Linked DNA regions of Homo sapiens: region 2 is linked to region 1. The links are contacts of gene promoters, found by promoter capture Hi-C in blood cells and fetal thymus (Javierre and others, 2016). All regions are on one chromosome and are shown on one strand. Each heading gives the region's core, a stretch centred on a gene start or on the middle of the fragment in contact. The rest is flanking DNA. Distances are from core to core; before and after follow the strand shown.

Evidence for each region. The method cuts DNA at HindIII sites, captures the fragments that hold promoters and counts their contacts. A CHiCAGO score of 5 or more calls a contact.
Region 2: a fragment that was not itself captured here is called in contact with the fragment with the promoter of GKN1 in region 1 in 2 of 17 cell types (megakaryocytes and M0 macrophages); the score reaches 5.6 in megakaryocytes.

What each region holds. Positions count from the first base shown.
Region 1 is chr2:68,971,771-68,977,791 of GRCh38, reverse strand. It overlaps GKN1 (gastrokine 1), which reads right to left and starts at 3,156. Exons shown (of 6, transcript NM_019617.4): 1 at 3,103-3,156; 2 at 244-297; 3 at 18-155. The coding sequence starts at 3,114. RefSeq lists a silencer at 5,434-5,666. The HindIII fragment of the contact is 2,059 bases long and covers 2,535-4,593 here.
Region 2 is chr2:69,223,431-69,229,367 of GRCh38, reverse strand. The region is part of intron 17 of ANTXR1 (ANTXR cell adhesion molecule 1); the gene reads right to left. It overlaps LOC124906019 (a long non-coding RNA gene), which reads right to left. Exons shown (of 2, transcript XR_007086799.1): 1 at 4,979-5,937; 2 at 4,478-4,790. Among named protein-coding and RNA genes, the nearest start is that of MIR3126, 120 kb to the right of the region's middle. The HindIII fragment of the contact is 771 bases long and covers 1,795-2,565 here.

The sequences.
Region 1 (6,021 bases), core at 1,907-4,406:
GCACGTTGACTACCTACATTTCCATAATCCCAGATGGAATTCCAGGAGTCCCATCCGTTGTTATTGTCAACATTGGCCACATTGTGTTCATTGTTGACACTCACTGACTGCTGCCCACTTCCAGCATTGTTGTTGTCATCATTGACGTTGATATTCTGAAGTTTATAAGAGATTGAGAGTGATTTAATATCACATTTCCTTGCAAATGCATTTTGGTAGCAAACTTGAAAAGGTGAGACTTACATAGTTAGCTAGGGCAGGAGCTAGAAAGACTCCAAGAAGTCCAGCAAAGACAATCTGAAATCACAAATAACATTGGTCTCCTGTTACATGGCAAAATGATGTCTTCTTTCTTCCTCTATCCAAGCTTATGAAAAGTATTCACTAATTTTACCAATGTGTTCAGTTCTAGTTCAATGTGTTTTTTTCTTCTCTTACCTTGCATTTTTTAACCATAAAGGTTTTAACGATAATGTGAAATTGCTGATTAATTATAAGTAATTATATTAATGTGATATATAGTTTTAGAATTTTTAGTGTAGGCCTTATGAAACGCTGGAAAAATTGATGAAGAAGGGAAGTTGAGAGCCAGGAAAGCTGCTTTCATCTCATTGCCATCCAGTACTGAGGAAGAAAATGTAATTTTCAAGTAGTGATAAATCAAATTATTGAATCAAATCCCTTTTAAAGTAAAACCCAGAATGTACCATCTTGTTTCTCTTCAGTTTAATAAGTGGTATCATAAAGATGACTTTGCTAAGATAATACTTCTGGAAATGTCAGAATAGAGTTTAAAAATTTTTAAGATTGGTCAAAATATTAACTTTATAATAAAACATATACTTGGCAAATGAATTTCCTATAAATTATCATTGGTCAGAATGCTGTTTTGTTGAATTATATTATGTAATATAAACCATAGGTGTTATTAGAAAGTAGAGAACTGCCTTTCTTATTTAGAGCTTTCAAGGACTTGCTATAAATGATTATTTTTAAAATGCTTTATAAATCTTCATGATTTTTCTATTTTGGATAAACTCAGCTATAGTTAATGACAGCATCCTACCTTGAGTAGATATTTGGATTATTTAAATCTAGTAAAAGAAGAAAGTTATACTTCTTCGAGTATTAAGAGATAGGAGTAAAGATTCACTTTTAAGTTATTGAAAATATGTGTATCCTCCTAAATATTAACAAAAATGATTTGGGATAACTGACATGGCTTGGTTATTCAGCTTAAATTTGTACTGTGGCTTATGTTACACAGGTTGTTGATGCTCACCTCTCACTCACTTGTTTCTAATTGTTTTATAAGGTTTAAAATTCTCTCTTTAGAGAAATTCAGAAAATTCACCTGGCACATATTTTGACCTCCTAGGTAACATATTTGTACCAGTATTGAATTTTGGTCAGTGCCCCAATATAAGAAAGTTACTGTTTTAAAATAAAGCAAACTATCTTATTTTCCTTGGAAAAAAAAAGAAGTTTTACAATAAATAGCATAGTATAAATGAATACTATGGTTTGAGATGGCTATAAGTGCTAAAAATCACATCTGAAAATGATTTCAGTTAATTTTCCTATTTAACATGGGATGTTTTCTTCCTAATAGAAATAATCTTTTTATTAAAAAAAACTTTCCAAAGCAATGGATTAGTAGGCAGTTTGGATGCCAATGATGAGAAAGCAAGTATAGAGTGTCTCGCTGGCAAGAGTGATCAGCAGAGGCGATGTCACTAGCAGTGTCCCAGGATACTTGGTTTAATTATTTATCACAGGGTCCCTGACATTGGTTTTCAGAGCACAGAGCTTTATGCAGGGTGCCTCATTCTGGGTACCTAGTCTCATTTCCTTTGCCTGGGACAAAATAGTTTTGAGAACTGCTCTAGAGATTCAAGGTAACTTTTGAAAAAAAATTAAATTTTTCTCCCAATAGCTTAAAAAGGAGTTAAAAATTAGTCTCCTAAAAAGTCAGAGGTAGAAGAAATTTTAGAGAACACCTAGTACAATGCAATCATTTTACAGATAAGGTAACTGAGCTTCAGGGGTTAAGTGAGTTGGCCAAACTTATACCTCTTGTTCACAGCAGAACTAGGAGAGAAATCAAATCTAACCTGTGTCTGGAGCTCCCTCTGACCCTTTTAAACTTTGCTGCTATTAAGAGGACCTAGTTCTAGGTAGTCATTTTACATTTGCAGCCCCATTATAAAGTAGAGTCTGCCGTAACGTTTTCCAGTGTGTAGTATGTTGAAACATGAAAATAGTCATCTGATTCTAGCCCCTTTGCATCGTGTTGTGAGAAACCCGGCACTACTAGTTACTTTGGCAGGGTTTCTCGGTCCACCTCCTCCTAGACTCTCAGGCTTCTGTCTGGAACCACAGGAGAGATGCTGTGGTAGCTTCATGTTTCAGATGCTTTCTTAAATAAATGGCCATGCTAGAGCCCAAGGCAAATCTTTCTTTCTTGGAGACCCATTTTACTGTAACAAATGTGACAAGAAGTCTATCTCAGCCACTTATTTTGATAATAAGCTTTTCATCTTTCCTGAACATGCTCAGGAATTTTGGTAAATAAAAGGAGGAATTCAAGAATGAGGGATGATCGGCACTTTCTAGGGCTTAGGAACTGCTTACCCTGCATGGAGACCGGAATCAGGTGATGCGGAAAGTCATTTTGTTAAAAATAGGTCAGTGTGAGGTGCTCAGACAGCTGTCTAATCTCAGCACAATTATCCTTCTCTATAGAGATGCTTATAAATGCCATGATTATATAAATAGAAAAAAGATTTTTTTTCATTATTTCTTCTTCTAAAAAAAAGGGATACATGTGCAGAACGTGCAGGTTTGTTACATAGGTATATGTGTGCCATGGTGGTTTGCTGCCCCTATTGACCTGTCCTCTAAGTTCCCTCCCCTCACTCTCCACCCCCCAACAGGACCTAGTGTGTGTTGTTCCCCTCTCTGTGTCCATGTGTTTGAAGAGAGAATTTTTTTAAAACAAATTTTCCATGATGGGGCCATAAGAAGCAGACCTCCTAAATCTCAGAATATTGACAGTCTCCAATCATTTGGTGGTAAATTCAAAAGGAAAAATCTACTCACTGTGAACTTCATCTTGTCTTCACGAAAGCAGTGGACAGAGGAGTAGGCAAGCATGGACCTGAATGAGAAGCCTTCTCATATTTGTACTTAACCAGGTTGACTCAAACTAGGTGTTATCAGGTGGGGTCAAAGACTTACCTTCCTCAATTTCTCCTATCTGTGCCATGAGCCAGTGTACCAGGAAACCTTTCAGAATATCTGCATGCTTAGCAAGGAACTTTCACATGGAGTTGACCTGACTCATCACTTGTTGAAGCTGAAGGTATCACAACAAACTCAATATGATTTATGATAACTTCTCACCCAGTCAAAGCTGTGGGCGTGAGTATTTTACACGCTAACATTGCTCAGATTCAGAAAAAGAATAATCCCTAAAATCAAACAAAATCACAGCTGAAAAGCCACGTGTATACTAGGCCTTCCAGATAGCAGCTCCTATAGGAATGTAGGAATGGTTTCCACTTCTTAACTTTTATCTGAGCCCATGGCAATGGTTTTGCTTAGACTAAACATGTTTTGTGAGCAACTCCCACCAAACCTACCCCTTTTCTGCAATGTTGAGCTCACTTAATGATAGCACCATATATCTGGTACAGCCCTTTCTTCTCAGTCTGACATCTACTTAGTTACTGTCATTTTATCTCTGAAATGCCTCTCAACTCTGACCTTGCCCACAGCTCCCCTCACCTGGACTTTCACAACAGTCATGCAATTGATCACTCTGGTCACCAGTTTCTTATATTCCAATGCATTTTCTTCATTAACCCTGAGGTTGTCTTTCTGAAGTGCATAGATAGACATGACTCTATCACGCTTGGAAATTTCGCTGGCAGCCTACAGAAAATTCAAAGTCATTGGAATGGCATCCAGGGTCCTATGTAATAAGATTTCCAAAGGCTTCCCGTCTGCCACTTTATGCTATGTACCTACATTCTAGCTCCACCAGCGTTCCCACCATTCCTGGAAAAGTCAAGATGTGTATGTCTCCATGCCTTTGTACATGCTGTTGTTTTATCTTGGAGGGCCACCCGCTAGCCTCTCGCTTGGTAGACTCCTGTTCATTGTTCAAGGCTCAGCTCAAATATCACTGCCTCCATCACATCTCCCCCATCTGATAGATAGAACTTTCCTAGTGTTTGTTTTTTCCTTCTGGGAACTATAAAAGCAATATCTTTTTATTTGCTTCTAGATAATTTAGTTTTCAGAAGTTACATTAAAATAATAAAAAATATTTTCATCAAAAGCAGAGAGTAGAAACTATCAATTGGGCAGACAAGTAAAAGCTCAAAACAGGTTTGGAGGTGAGTTGGTTTTAATTTTTTTCCTGCTTTTTCCTATACAGTGAAGCTAGTAAATTAAATTTGCCAAGGAGGAAAACTGTATTTCATTAACTACCAATCTATAAATTTTCCCTTTGGAAACTTCGTGCCCACAATTTTCCTCCTGTGCATGGATTGAAACCATAAGATGGGATCACATGGTTATAAAGCTTGATTCGCTATCAACATCTCTTCAAAACTGTTGGTAGGAGTGGATTAGAACAGCTGCAGTATTACTGGATATTTTTTAATGTGTCCACTGATTTCTTTCAAACTCACTCTTTATCCACAGAAGGTAATAAGCCTGGAGTAAGGGGCAGACATGTGTGAAGAGGCCTTCATCTGCTTTAGGAAACTTCATGTCACTGAGAAGTCAATGAGTGGGTAGCATGGTCTCTACGTTTAAACTCAGCCACCAGTAGTCATCTTGGTACACAGGTGCAGTGCCCAGCACACATTTTGCATGTCATACCAAGGACAAGGGCCTGAAGTTCTGCAGTGGACCTGTGAAATGCTGGTCTGGAAGATGTTCCATGACAGACAGACAGACAGATAGATAGATAGATAGATAGATAGATAGATAGATAGATACATACATACATACATACATACATACATACACACGTATACACACATAGATACACACACATACATAGATACATAGGTAGAGTTCCGGGTCCAATAATCCCCCCTTTAGAGACTGACAATTCACATTCACACATCAAATGGGCTAAGAAATTTATAGGGGAAAAATCTCTGTTTCATCCAGGTTCTTCTCATCTTAGTTGACTACAGAACCTGATCGTTTTCCCTTTTTCTTTTATTTATTTGTCCTAACATCTCATAACAACTCTGGGGACCCCTGCCTTAGTGAAAAAATTGTGCCACCTCTGAGGATGCACCCTGGATTTGAAAACCCATTTGGGGAGCTACTGGATGAAGCTGGGAGCCAGGAGACCTAGATTCTATTTTCCCATCTTTCAATGAGTCATTTATTTTTTTGGTTTAGGCCTTAGGTTTCTTGTGGGTAAAAGAGAAGAAATTCCTCCTTTATACAATATTTGTTACTTCAATGGCTCTACAACCAGAAAAACTTCTTTTTCTGTACTTTGTGTGGTGTGGGAGGTTGGGGGAGAGGGAGTGTGGGGGTCAAGGTGGGGGTCAACCCTCACCTCAATCCTGGTCTCATCCAAGGCCAAAAGTCCTAATGAAGCATGAGCAAGACTTTTGCCCTGAGAACTGTGTTTTATGTTTCATTCTTCCCTTGAAGAAGAATGTCTTCCCAGGAAGACAGAACATACCAATGTTTTTGGTCACCTCCATAGAATCTAAAATATGCAGACACATATATGGTGCTCAGTAGGCCCCTTGTAAAAATTTTACTTGCGTAAAGGAGATGTTAAGCTACAGGATAAAAAGTGCGTTATATTTAGTCATTTCTGGTTTTGGTGCCAGCCTGAGAGGGGCTGCCCTACACTGGCTGTGATGACACATTGAGGGAGTCTCAGTTGATGGTGTGACCTCTGTGGCTTGGGGTTAGTGTGGAACAAATCAGCCCATGGGTAAATAGAGCCTGCCCTGCCTACAGAGATTGATGCTG
Region 2 (5,937 bases), core at 931-3,430, 250 kb before region 1:
CTTCTTTTGCACCAATCGAGGAATGCCATCTTCAGGATGAGTTCTTTTCCTATGCCAGTAGCTGTCAACACCTTTTCCCCAAAATGGAATATTAATTTTTTTAAAAAAGAACAAGTTTGCTTCTGTGCTTCCTGTATTGTTGCCAGTGAGTGGCACTGTTATGGACCGAATGTGTGTGTCTCCCCAAATCCATGTGTTGAAGCCTCAGCCTCCAGTGGGATAGTATTTGAGGGTGGGGTCTTTGGGAGGAACTTAGGGTTGGATGAGGTCATGAGGGTGCCTCCCTCATGATGGGGTTGGTCCCCTTAGAAGAAGAGTTCCCACAGGGCTTGTTTTCATTCTACTCACACATGCACCAAGAAATGGCTATGTGAGCACACAGCCTGGAAGAGGGGCCTCACCAGAACCTGATCACACTGGCACCCTGATCTCAGACCTCCAGTCTCCAGTACTGTGAGAAAATAAATTTCTGTTGTTTAAGGCCCACAGTCCATAGTATTTTGTTATGGCAGCCTGAGCACACTAAGAGAAGCATCCTAAATGGGTAGGTGTCTGCTAGGTTCTCAGCACTTCACACATGCACCTTTTTCCTATCCCACAACATTGTCACACTGGCCAAGCCCCCTACTCATATGTATTCATTTGAGGGACAAGTTGTTTGTTATGGAGTGAAAAGTTTCATACTAATCCCAAATGCCACTCACTGAGTGCTTACCCTATGCCAGGCTTGGTACTAGCTGCTTTATATTCATCAACTCATTTTGTTCTCCTAAAAGCACCATTGGTTAATATCCCCATTATCCTGATTCAAAAATGTAGAAATGGCTCAGGGGCTGCGTAATTTTCCCAGGCTATCTCTGTAAGTAAGTGACCGAGTGAAGATATAAATCGAGGTCTGTTTAGACTCTATGCTCTTTCTTTTGAGCAACATGTGCTTTTAGATTGGAATGAATCTAGGGCAGAATGAATCAAGAAGCATAGCCATGAAAAGAGTTGGCCACCAGTAATATTACCCATTTGAGAAGTTTCCACGGGTCCCAACACTTACCCAGCCTCCGTTGTTCTGTTCCAGCTTTCCATGTCTCTATTTCTTCCTTCTTTAGGATTTCAGTGCCCTGCAGCAACCCTTCCTGGAGAAGTGCCTTGTGTATCCCTATCCCTTTTTCCAATCATAATTTACTTGTCCTATGTGCCTCTCCCCTTATAATCCTCTGTGCTTTCTAAGGGACAAACCTCTAATCAGATCCACAAGCTGGGTCCACTATAGTGGTTTATTTCTTAATAGGCTCTATCTTTCCATAGACACAAAAATATACTGTGACAGAGATTGATAACTGTCTCTCATATGCATTTTCACTTTCTTCCTTTAGTAGTAGAACCCCTGAGTTTCACTGGCCACATGACCAGCCAGCAATGACTACATTTCCCAGCCTTCCTTGCAAAAGCTGCTTCAAGAGGCAGTAAATGATGCTGAGCTTGACCTAGTGTGGTGCAAGGATTGCAGGTGGGTGTGGCTTCCTTTGCATCAAGGTGTGGCCATGTAATCTATGCTCTGGCCAGCTGAATGTGAGCAGAAATTATATGTCCAAATTCTAAGCTGTGCCTTAAAGGGCACACCCTAACCCTTTTCATTCTTGGACTATGCTGACAAGAACCACACTCTTGGGGTGGTGGAGAAACAAGATGGAAGGAGCCTGGGCACCTGACAGCATGGAGCTGCCATGTTGATCCTGGACAGTTTATTCCCGGAGAGTTATATGTGAGAGGGGAAAAAAAAGTTCGATAGTTGAAGCTTGTATTATTTTGGGCTTTTGGTAGGTCAGCTGAACTTCTAACCTAAATAATATAATTCAAGAAAGGAACCTTCTGATGACAGTATTTTATTCTAAAGGAGCGGCCCCAGTGCTGGGCATTTGGGGTGCTGTGGTAGGCTCTTGTGGTGATCTTCTGGGATTAGGCTGGGCTTTGGGCAGCCTCTTACTTTTTGACCATGGAGTTGGATGCCCACCTTTGAAGAGGTGAGACCTGCCCAGCTGGCTCCCAGAAGCCTCTGGACTGTTTCCTGGACTTATCTGCTTTTTAGGTAAGGGCTGCCATGATCCTGCCAGAGTGCCTCTCAGATAAAACTAAAGGAAGACAGTAGTCAAAACCCTGAAGTATTCTGGCTGATGTCAGACAGAAAAACAGAAAATTTACAGCACTCAAAATCTGGGATTCATTTAGGAGTAAAAAAAAGCATGAAGTTATCCAACCTCAAAACTGTTTTCAGGCTTCCACTGGGCCCCAGTACTCTTCCTAATTGCAAGACCATGTAGAAGTTGGATCTGAAATAAGACCATGAGCCAGTATCAAAATGCCCCATTTTCATGGTGCACGAAATGCTTCACGAATCCAGCCTGCACTAATTAAATGTCTGTGATACTTCTCCCCAGGCTGGGCTGAGCTCGTGTTCTGTATGATCTGGGAAGAAATGGTTGTTGGACTCATATTGAGACTGTAAGAGGAATCTTTAAGAGGAAAAAAAATATATATGTTAAATCTTTTGGAAAGAGGCAGGGTAAAGCTTTGGGGGGATTTCAGCACCTGGATTATAAATAAAGAATGTCGCTAATTACCAACGAATTTTATTTGTTCATTAAAAGTGGACTCAGCAGAAAGCTCCACTTGGAGAGATGACAAACGGTATGACCTCTACTTCATTTCTTCTATTTCAATGGTTCCTCCTAGTTGCACAAACCCTTACCAGGATAACAAGGTCACCCCAAGTACCTGGATGGGCCTCTGACTCCCGAATTCTTCTCAGCCTCCTCTCACTGCTTTTGTTGCTGCTCCTGGCTTGCAGCATTTCTTACTTCTCAACCACCATTTTGGCTCCTAGGCTCTCCCATTTCCTACCGCTTGATGAGGCCTTTGGAACTAGCTTGACCTTTGCCTTCCTCCGGCCTCATGACCTGCTCCACATCCTTCCCCAATTGACTGGTCTTTCACTAGGTCCCATTCCACAGGGGATGAGGACTGGGCCCTGGAGGAGTCTCTCTGAGCTAGATCCCAGGGGCTGCTCACAGAGATCAGCCCTGGAGTGAATTCAGCCAGAGAACCCAAAGAAACTCTGTGAATCCAGACAGTCCAGGAAAAGAAAGGTGACCTCATGCTTAGTAAGAACAATCTCTGTTCAGTCTCCAAAGACCCTGCAATGAGTGGGGGTGCTCGTGGTTTGGCCCACTCCCCCGAGCTATGGCTACCAACCCCCTCATTGAGGAACAGGATTCTTGAGGCTGAGAGATGTGGCTGGGACTGAGGCAGAGGAATGCAATGGAGAGGCAGTGTGGGGACACACTGCAGTTCTGAACAGCTCACTCTGATTTTCTGGGAGTCTTAGCTATGCAGTGGTTGAAATTATGAATAAGCAAAAAGCCCAATAGTAACAGCAATACTCCTTGTCCTCTTTCCGGCCATCACAATTCCCACCTGGTCCTTTCTTGCCTTTCAGCCTTCTTTCTTTGAAGGCAGGGACTTTGTCATATTATTTGGTTTTGGCCTAAAAGAAGCTCTGGAATAGCACCCAACATTTGCTAGTGTTCAATCCATAAGCTCCCTGAAGAGGCTAAAGAACTACATTGTGAAGCTGGAGAGGGAGTTTGGGGGTTTGCATCATCAGTTTCTCTAAACCTGTTGCTTTTTCTCAGCTCGCCTCTCTCCTGCATCCCATCTCCCTTGCTTCTCCCCTACCCATGAGGTTAATGAGTGCCTCTGGTAGCGAGCTGAGCAGAACACCAAAATTTCCCTGCCTTGAGGTGTCTTCTTCCTACTCTCTGCACCCCGGACATGTCCAGACTACCAATTGGTCTGATATATGTATTTTTAAATTATTTAATAAAATAAAAAATAAATTTTTAAATTCACTTTGTCGCCCAGGCTAGAGTGCGGTGTCATGATCATGGCTCACTGCAGCCTCAACCTACTGGGCTCAAGCGATCCTTCCACTTTGGCCTCCCGAGTAGCTGGGACTACAGGCATATGCCACTGTCCCCGGCTCAGTCTGATATTTTCAACATTAGGGATCCCCTGTGGGCATCTCATGGAGACTCCTTTTAAAATGCCAGAGTGTTACCCAGGAGAGAAATTCCCTGGACACTGGCATCCAGTAACATGTGGGTTAGCCAGCATAAAGATCTATTCTTTTGAGGCCAGGGAAAGGGTGCTCGGGACTGTGAAATTTGAGTGGTGGTGATCGGGATAAAGGGACATAGGAATGTCAAATTTTGAGGGAATGGGGGGAGGCAAAAGGACCAAAGTGTGCAGAGCACTACAGAGAAGGGAAGAGAGGGGCTGGCCAGGAGGTCAGCACATGAGCTCATTCACATAGGCTGGGAACACCACAGAAAACGGAGGGAGGGTGACACTCTAGATGTCTCCAGGCAGCTTCTGACCTGGAGCTTACCTCCCCAAACTGTGCAATGAGCCCAAGAGAGACTTGTTTAATCTCCAAGAAGATTTCTTTTCATATGTTAGTCACATGGTATAATATGGACTAAGCGCAAATATTAATATTTTAGGAGGAATACTTTTGTAACAGAGAGTGGAGTTGAGACTCTTCTGCCTCTTACGTCATTTTCATGGGAAAATGACATTTTCCAAGCTGCCAGGAGCCACAGATTTTCATGTTTGGGGATGGAAGAGCAGCTGTATCTGAAGACTGCTGTGCAGGATCCTGCCAGAGTGTCTGCCAATCCTTTATGCTCTGGTCAAGAGAGGGCCTGAGCAACGGTGGGGCCCTGCAGGCTCTCTCCCTAGGGATGGAATGGAATGCAAGCCCAAGTTCTGAAACTTGGAAGTAGGGCACTTGCAGGGAGGTAGAGATTTGAGGGCAGGGAAAGGGAATAGGGAGGAAAAAGGGTGATAAAACTAAAGTGAAGAGCAGCAGCAGGACATGGTACTTCATTCTTCCCATAAACAGAACAATTTTACGGCTGATTACCTTCTGGATTACCTTTCGCCTACTTTCAAAGTGTGTTGCCACAATCTTCTGTCAACAAAAACCAACAGTGATCTCAACCTTCTGTTTCAGAAGGTTGGTAGTTACATGAACATTACTTCTGGTTTGAGTCTCTGAAATAATGATCATACACAATCTGACGATTGATGAGGATGGTATCAAAAGGAAAATTCCCAGTCTGTAAGCCTTGAAAGTGCTTCTGAGGAGATCCTATTTGTGTTTTTGGCTGGCTTATGCCAAAGATAAACTGGAATCTGTATCAGTACAGGTCATCTCTCAAAGGCTATTGGCACACTAGCTGGCTTTTTCTATTACCTTAAATGCTACTCAGGGGCCCTGGCCATGCAGTTATAGTAGACAGCATTCAACTTGTCATTGGCAGGACCGGGTGGAGATGAGAACACAGTTTATATGCCAGAGTTGAAAACTCTAAGGGAAGGGTGGAGGTGTGGTTTTTGCTTATCACATACCCAAAGGTTAACTGAAATTGGGTATACACCTACATTCGAGATCAAGCAAATCATCTGTAATTTTTAGCCGTTTCCTCCTTTAGGCAATTCATATTTCCTTAAGCAAGGTCTTGCCTGATTTTCTGATATTCTTTCTCTTAACACCTCAGTTTGATTATTCTGATTTAAAGAATCTAGCACACAATGAAGATATTAAAACCTTCTTCACTTTAAGCAAACCTCCTCAAAAATTAGAACATTTTTGGGTCATTTTTGTCATTATGATGATGACAGTGATGGTGTTGATGACAATGATGTTGGCCCTTGTTTGATCTAAGCTTCATCGGTGACCTCCCAGTTTGGATCAAACTTACTGGAGCTAAAGGAGACAATCTTGAGTTGCTTTGCTCATCTACTGAGTGCTATCCTTCCAACAACAGCTTTCCTTATTCCTCCATTTGTGTAATAAGGAAGTAGGAAAACTCAGGACTT